Regions from separate parts of the Homo sapiens genome. Here region 1 is linked to region 2. Evidence: promoter capture Hi-C in 16 types of primary human blood cells and fetal thymus (Javierre and others, 2016). All regions are on one chromosome and are shown on one strand. Each heading gives the region's core, a stretch centred on a gene start or on the middle of the fragment in contact. The rest is flanking DNA. Distances are from core to core; before and after follow the strand shown.

What was found. The method cuts DNA at HindIII sites, captures the fragments that hold promoters and counts their contacts. A CHiCAGO score of 5 or more calls a contact.
Region 1: a contact is called between a fragment that was not itself captured here and the fragment with the promoter of XKR3 in region 2, in 1 of 17 cell types (naive B cells). The highest score is 5.2, in naive B cells.

Annotation. Positions count from the first base shown.
Region 1 is chr22:16,951,400-16,955,511 of GRCh38, forward strand. No RefSeq gene overlaps it. Among named protein-coding and RNA genes, the nearest start is that of GAB4, 55 kb to the right of the region's middle. The HindIII fragment of the contact is 1,339 bases long and covers 1,809-3,147 here.
Region 2 is chr22:16,823,288-16,827,318 of GRCh38, forward strand. It overlaps XKR3 (XK related 3), which reads right to left and starts at 2,124. Exons shown (of 4, transcript NM_001386955.1): 1 at 2,004-2,124. The HindIII fragment of the contact is 7,309 bases long and covers 1-2,661 here.

The sequences.
Region 1 (4,112 bases), core at 1,228-3,727, 130 kb after region 2:
AAAGCAAATAACCCCATTAAAAAGAAGGCAAAGGACATAAACAGCCACTTCTCAAAAAAAGACATACAAGAATATTTATGAAAAAAATGCTTATCATCACTAATTATCAGGGAAATGCAAATCAAAACCATAATGAGATGTCATCTCATACCAGTCAGAATGGCTATTACTAAAAAGTCAAAAAATAACACATTGATGAGGCTGTTGAAAAAGGAGTGGGTATACACTGTTGATGGGAATTTAAGTCAGTTCAACCACTGTGGAGAGCAGTGTGGAAATTTCTCAGAGAACTTAAAACAGTACTACCATTCAATGGTAGTTTTTTTTCACAAAAGCAAAGACATGGAATGAACCCAGGTGCCCATCAATTATGGGTAGAATAAATAAAACGTGGCACATATACACTATGAAGTACTACACACCTATAAAAAAAGAATGAAATTAAGCCCTTTGCTGCCATGTGGATGCAGCTGGAAACCATCATCCTAAACAAACAGATGCAGAAACAGAAAATCAAATATCACATGTTCTCACTTATAAGTGGGAGCTAAACATTGGGTATGCATGGTAATAAAAATGGGAGCAATAGACTTTTGGGAATACAAGAGCGAGGAGAGAGGGAGGGGTGTAAGGGTTGATAAAAACTACCTACGGGTTTCTAGGCTCACTACCTGGGTGATGGATTCACTCATGCTCCGAACCTCAGCACCATACAATATACCCATGTAACAAACCTACACATATATCTTGATTGTAAATTAAAGTTGGACAAAAAGACTCAGGCATGTAGTTCATAAACACTTGTTTTAACATAAATGCATATTTTTCTTTGTTGAATATTAGAGAATATAGCTCCAGGAAAAAGTGCTACATTTTTCCTGTGGCTTTGGATACCACTTGCCAACAAGCCAGTTTGAGAGTCAAGACAGAAAAGTATAGGATTTTATTGTTTATGAAATTCTTCCACATGTTCTATAAGCACATTATGGTTTGGATTTATGTTCCCTTGCACACAAGCTCTGGAAAGTGCTTGTACCAAGGCACATGCATCAGGCTACGCCAGTTTCTCTGGGAGCAGCAGACCTTGCTCAGGGAGCCATCGTATGTAAATTTCCAGAAGCATTAGGAGCTTAAGAGTAATTTGGGGAATTGTTATTTTCCTAAGAGTATGAAGTTCCATTCTTTGGGAAAAAATGGCATTCTATGTTCTTTTTTCTGTTGTGAATATTTTTCCATCTCTCTCTCTCTCCCTCTCTCTATGTGTGTGTATGTGTGTGTGCATGGTAGGTTCTGTCCATCTGTCTGCCTTTTTGCCCCTATTTGTTTATTGTGTGTGGGGCAAGGAAGACTTGGATAGGGCAGAATTGCAAGAAAAAAGAGGGACTAAGAGAGAAGATGCTGTTATCTCCCCTCTGGCAGCTCTTTTGATTTTTTTTAATCATCTGTGGGAGGTGATTGGCTAATCTGATATATTATCTAATAAATGCTCCTGGGAAATGAGTGAGTTAAACCACTGCTCAAGCAACGTCTTCTGTGGTAGTCAGAGGACATGCACTGGGGAGATGAGGGTATTGGGTGCTAAGCCAGCTCGAAGCTCTGTGGAACCTTGTACAAATCTAGGGCACTGTACTCAGGATCTAGGGACAAGAACAGGGCTAGAGTAACTGTCATAAATGCTGCTTAAATCAATTAAGAAACACTACATTGTGCTTAGGTGTTTTCTTTAAAATATATCATTATTAGAACTAGTGCTTGGTAATATTGCTGCAGGTGCAGCTGTTTAATGTGATAAAGAGTAATGAGGGGAAAGCTTGCTCGTGACCACACCACAGACCCCCAGCACCCTCCCATTGTCCTGACTGTAGGATCATGTTCCAAGGGGGTGACTAATTGTCTTGCAAGTTGACTCTGCAAATCTAAAAGTAGAAGATGAAAGCAGGAACATGATTGTGGGTAAGCACCATGGAAGTATAGAATGCCAAACTAATAGAAGGTAGACATATCCTCACCTGACAGATGAGGAAATCCAGGCCCAGGGAGGTTTACAGGTTGAGTCAGAGAGGCTCACTGACCATGGCCAGACAGCAAGTGAGGACGAGCGCTGGGCCTCACACTGAGGTCTTGATGCCACTGGATTTGGCCAATGGACCAGGGCTGTAGCTGCTGGACTCCTGTAAGAACTTATGAATCCTTCATTCACTGCCATGTGACCTGGCCAATTATTTTCTCTATCTGAATCTTAGTCATTTAATCTATAAAATGGGCATACTTTAAGGTGGTATGAAGGGAAAGGTCACATAAAAGGCCCTCACGTCAAGATGAGAAGCTGGACTGTGTTTGCAGGCAGAAGCTGTTGGCACCATTTGTAGGCAGTCTCCCAGGACTCCAGCCAGGTTGGATGTAGTGAAGACGACTTCCCAGAGGAGATGACTGTTTTCTAGCCCAGTTACTGGGCTGATTCTGGTGCCCACTGCCTTGCCTTGTTTCCTCCTCAGGACTTTCATGCTCCCAGTGAGGATTACACTAAGCAGCAATTATGGCAGGAGGCCTGGATCTCACAGGAGAGCAAGCTGACTGGTTTCTGCCCTGAGCTCATGGCCAAGTCAGTTACGGGCAACACTGTTTTTAATCAATGTGGGTGCCCCATGCTGCGTGAACAGCATCCCTCAGGCCTTGCTCGTGGCTTTTGAATAGATGCTGATTTTGCACTTCCTGTCTGCCCTTGGTTCTCTGCATTATGGTCAATGATAGATGGTAGAAAGGAGTGAGAATGTAGGCTGGAGAGAGTGGGTCTTGCTTTGCATTGCTGACATGATCCCGAGGTCTGTGGGCACATGAAGGCCCCAGACGGCCTCAAGCCATTGCCAAGGCAGTAGGTAGCAACGGGATGAGAACTCAAGATGGGCACAAGGGACGGGGCTGCAGTGGGAGGAGGGGTCCTCACTGGGCTGGTTGATATCACTGACTTTTCTCCATGAGTCCATGGTGGTGGATTGTGTCTTCCTGTGTGGAGCTCCCATTCATTCTGGTTTCAGACATATTTTTGTTTAATGCAACAAATGCAGTATTTATTGTCTATGGCTACCTATTCACTTTATGGCTTGCTTAAAAATCACTCAAAATTTCAGCTTTGATTCTGTGAAAGTAAGCTTTGATCCAGGTTTATAGTATGACTTCAAGTCAGTTTCTCCTCTCTGAGCTTCAGGTTCAGCAGAGGAGGTTGGATGTGATCTCCAAGCTGCTGCTACTTGTTCTTCTCAAACTTCCTGGTGAAGGACTTGTTTTTTTCTAATTTTGGTCTGCTGCAGACCATTACTTTTGTAAAATACAATAAAATGACTTACCAAAAAAAAAATGATCCTGTGCTTATATGGCCATGGTAATATCACAATGCTTTACAGGTTTCTAAATGCTTCCTCCATTTCTTGCCTTGCATTGCCTTGGACCAGCTAAGTGGCCCACACTTTGAGAAGTGCTATTCTATGCAGTGGGCTGTTTGGAGAAATGCATGAGTGATCTTTCCAGATTGTCTAGTGAGAAGAGAAACAAAGCTGGGATCTGGAAATCAGCTTGTTCCAGGGAATATGGGCATGAAGAGGATCTCCTTCCTGTCTGCCACAGGGCCACACCTCTGCCATCAGGAGCCAGTCTACACCACCGTGTCCTCTTCTGTCAGGATAATTCTCATACTGATGCCTGCCTTTCTCATTTGAAGGCAGGGGGATAACTTTGGGTGACTCTAGGGCCAGGGTGCTGAGCAGGGACTGCAGGAGTGAACTGGGGCCGTGTGTTGGAGCCAGATGCACTGCCCTGCATAGGTCTGAATGCCCTGTCCCGGGGAAGCAGGGAGAAAGCGGTGTGGGTAGAATAACTCATGGTGGTTCTAGGGCCAGGACCCCGAACAGGGGCTGCAGCAGTGGACTGGGACAGAGGTGGAGCTTGCTGCTTTGCAGGGGTCTGTATGTTCTTTCCTGGGGAACCACGGAGAAAGGGGTGTGGGGGCTGCTGTGGGTGGGATGATGTTGACATGAACTCTGTGGCAGACCAGAGCCCCAGCCTTAGAACCCTGGCATCACAAGATGTTAGGACACACTAATTTTTGGCTCCTGGGG
Region 2 (4,031 bases), core at 874-3,373:
ATAATACATCGGCAGCAGGAAGAAGAGTTCGTGGTACACAGTGAAGTTTGGAAAGGTGTTCCTATTGACATCATTATAATCATGACCACCATCATCATTTCTTAGAAACACAGAATTGACAGGACTCACTGATTAAGAGTATTTGACAGTGAAATATGAGAGAAGAGATTGCCTTGGTCAATTCTTGAGTATCCATCTGGTAGAGCTTGGAAAAGTGGTGGAAGCAGAATTTTTGGGAAAAACATTTAAAATAAACTTAAACACCTTACTTTTGATCTGCGTGATGTACAGAACTGGTGATGAACAGGGCAACCTTGTCACTTTAAAATATATCTGATTGCCAATTTGCAGCATCACAAGACTAGTAAACATTTACTGTGAAACATTCAGAAAATACAAATTACCAAAAGAATAGAGTTTACCTATTGCTTAGTTTTCTCCAGCAATGGAGAGATCAATAATAATAAATCTGACACCAATTCAAAATATGAAACTTTAGGGTACTCAAGTACTAAAAGGTTTTTTTTTTTTAATGTAAACAAACTCACAGGTAACAGTGTCCAAAGTAGAACATTAGAAATGAGAGATTCTTGATGTAACAACAGGTCCAGGTGATGATAATTCAAGGCTGCTGAAACAAGTGAATGAAATCTTGAAGGGATCTTAATGATGAGAACTAATTCTTGCTTGTTGGAGTGATGAGACAAATGGTCCAAAAATTAAAAAACAAAACAAAACAACAACAACAACAAAATAATTTGTTGCTTGCAAATAGGCCCTAGAAGCAATATGAAACAGTCTTCAAATGAATAGATGAGAAAAATCGCATCTGACCTAATTAATTCAATGTCACAAAAAGAGAGACAATGTGTTATTTAAAGGGATGAGACAGAAAAAACACTCTTGTAAATAAAGAGAGAAGAGTACAATGAAGTACCCATTTCCACCTACGAGGAACGGGCATGTAAGAAAATACGGGAATCATGTGCAGATGATATAATTACTTATCTAGAGGCACCATAAAAATGTTTTTCCCCAAATAATGTCCATTAGGGATAAAATTTTAAGAAAGAAAGGATGTTACTTTTAAAGACAATTGTTAAATACCTAGTAAATAGAGTAAGTGAGTAAGAAAAGCAGAAAGAAAATAAGTTGCAGCTACCAGATACCCACAAAAAGAAAGAAAAGGGAAAAAGAAGGAATGGAGGGAGAGAGCACAAATGGAAAGAAAAAGGGTGGGAAGGAGGAGGGAGAGTAGAGAGAGAAATTACAGAAGTAGGCGAGGGGTATAAAGGAAAGCATGGAAAGACAACTGCAGAGACATCAGAGTTTCTGGGCCTCAGGATAGGGGAAAAATACATCCAACATTATAAGAAATATATCCCACTCTCTCCCCAGCAATCCATACATCGAATATGATATTAATGCAGATTGCACCTTTCTGGCTGCCCCAACCACTTCCTTCTCCTTTGGACTCACAGAAGGACCTCTATAATTTATTTCTGGAAAACACTTATGAAAATATGCACATATGAAAAGGGCCACAGAGTTTAGAAATGGGTCTTCCAGAGTCTAAAATTCAAGGTAGAAAGTGAAAGTGAAGTCACTGAACAATGGAATTTAGGCATGTGTTTGTGATTAAGTGAACTTGTTTCTTGTACTCACATAGCCAGTGCATCACTGCATCTGAATAACAAAAAATATGGTAGATTTCTGCCCCTTTGAGATTTCACTTAAATACGAAGCACTTTCTCCTTCTGATGTTTAAAAACATGCTGAAATTTGTAATATATTAGTAACAACCACTGTCCCACCCAAATGCTAAGCAGCTGCTTCTCTTCTCTGAAAATCAGAATCAAGAGAGGGAGTTTCTAGGCTCAAGACTCGGGAAAAGCCACCCCTGATATCCAGAGATTTATGTTAAGATCCCCAGCTGAGACAGGCAGAGGTCAAGGTAGGCTGAAGAAGCTGATCTGAGATGGTCGAGGGCTGCTCCTACTTACCTTGCCTATTTGCCACCCTCACAGTTTTGAAACTCGTTCAAAAAGTAAATGCTTTTGTTCACCTCTTTAACAGCACCATTTCTGGTCTCGTTTTCAACACTACGTCCTTTGCTTTGCAGGTAAAATTGCTTATTTTCTTGCCTTTTTATGACTAAAGTAGGCTTGCAGTTTGGAGTCAGGTGACTGCACTAGCTGAGTCATCTTCCCTTGAAAACACCAAGGCATTCTTCCTCCCTACAGAGTCACACATCTTAGTTCCCCAAAACGCTCAGCCACAATTTGACTTCGATTGTCCTACATTTAAGGTGATATTTTTCTGATTCTCCCATTAACTCCCTCTTCTCTTCGCACCCATGGCCCATCTTTTGCTGCTGTCTAGTAGCCATTCATCCCCTCCCATCACAAAAGAAGTCTGTACTTCCTTCAGACAGAGCAACAAGAAAATTCCCCAGAAAGCAAACAATTAAACAAATTTTAATTTTGCCTTTTTTAAATGAAAATTCTGTCAAAATTGATGAACCACATCTGGTAGGAGCACCTGTTTTATTTTCACAAAGAGTTTTCTGATCTGGACATTTTTGTTACTTACTGCTAATATGGAAAATTTTGAACTAAACAAAATACACCCCCAAAACTTAAACTATGTTAAACCAAGACAAGCTTCTAACAATGACACCTCTTTCCAGTATGAGAGAACTGCCTCCTACAGTATAAGAAATATCAAAATCATTATTTTTTTATTCCACACATATTCAACACTTAAAGCCAAGGCATTAGAATTTTAATATACCACCTCTCAAGCATGAACATATAAAAATTCTTACTGTAAATGGGGCATGATTATTTTTCAAAGAGAAGAAATATTTTATTCAATTCTAAGATTAATTCACAAATTTGACTCCTGTTTTATAATGATAACTTTACGTTGCAGGACACAGAGATTATTCCTTAAGAAATATTTTTTAAATAGATATTTGGCTCTTGGAACCAAATAATAAAATTTTCTGCTTAGACATACATACAAATTTACTTTACTTAAAACACTTTCTTGTTATTATTACATTTTTAAATCTCCCACTCTTTGGGATCTCCTTATAAGTAGGTCACTTGCTTTTAAAATCTTACATAATTAACATGTCAGATATTTACAGACATACCAAATGAAAGTATTATTTATTCTATGATATGAATAAAAAATGTTTTGAATAGATACATACATGAATAACTTTTTATTCTGAAATCTAATCAGTTTTATTCATATTTGATTTTATTTTAATTTTTTAAGGTATGTTTCACATAATACAAAATTACATTATTCAAAATTATATTATTAAAACATTTCTATCATCAAACAGGAAACCCCATTATCTACTTAACAGTTCTTTCTATTCCCCAGCCCCTGACAACCATTAACCTACCTTTTGTCTATATGGCCATGTCTTTTTACCATATATGTTTTACACTGCATCAGTTTTCAATCCAACATGCCAAGCTGAGAGAGTTTTTAAAATATTTATTTTTATTTTTTTGCACCGTCCAATTACCAGGCCCTATGCTCCTCGCACCAATCTAGTAAGACTGTGTGTGTCAAGGAGAAAATTATGTTTATTTCAGGGATTGAGGATATTAATTAATTTATTTATTTATTTATTTATTTATTTATTTATTATTTTCTTAAGACAGAGTCTTGCTCTGTTGCCCAGGCTGGAGTGCAGTGGCACAATCTCAGCTCACTGCAGCTTCCGCCTCCTGGGTTCAAACGATTCTTCTGCCTCAGCCTCCCGAGACCTGGGACTACAGGCACATGGACCACACCTGGCTAATTTTTGTATTTTTAGTAGAGACAGGGTGTCACCATGGTGGTCAGGCTGGTCTCGAACTCATGACCTCATGATCCGCCTGTCCCGGCCTCCCAAAGCGCTGGGATTGCAGGCATGAGCCACCATGCCTGGCCCTCCTTATTAATTTAAAAGATTCTGCAGGCATGAAACTTTTGCAGAATAAACTGTGTAAGTAATCATTCTATAT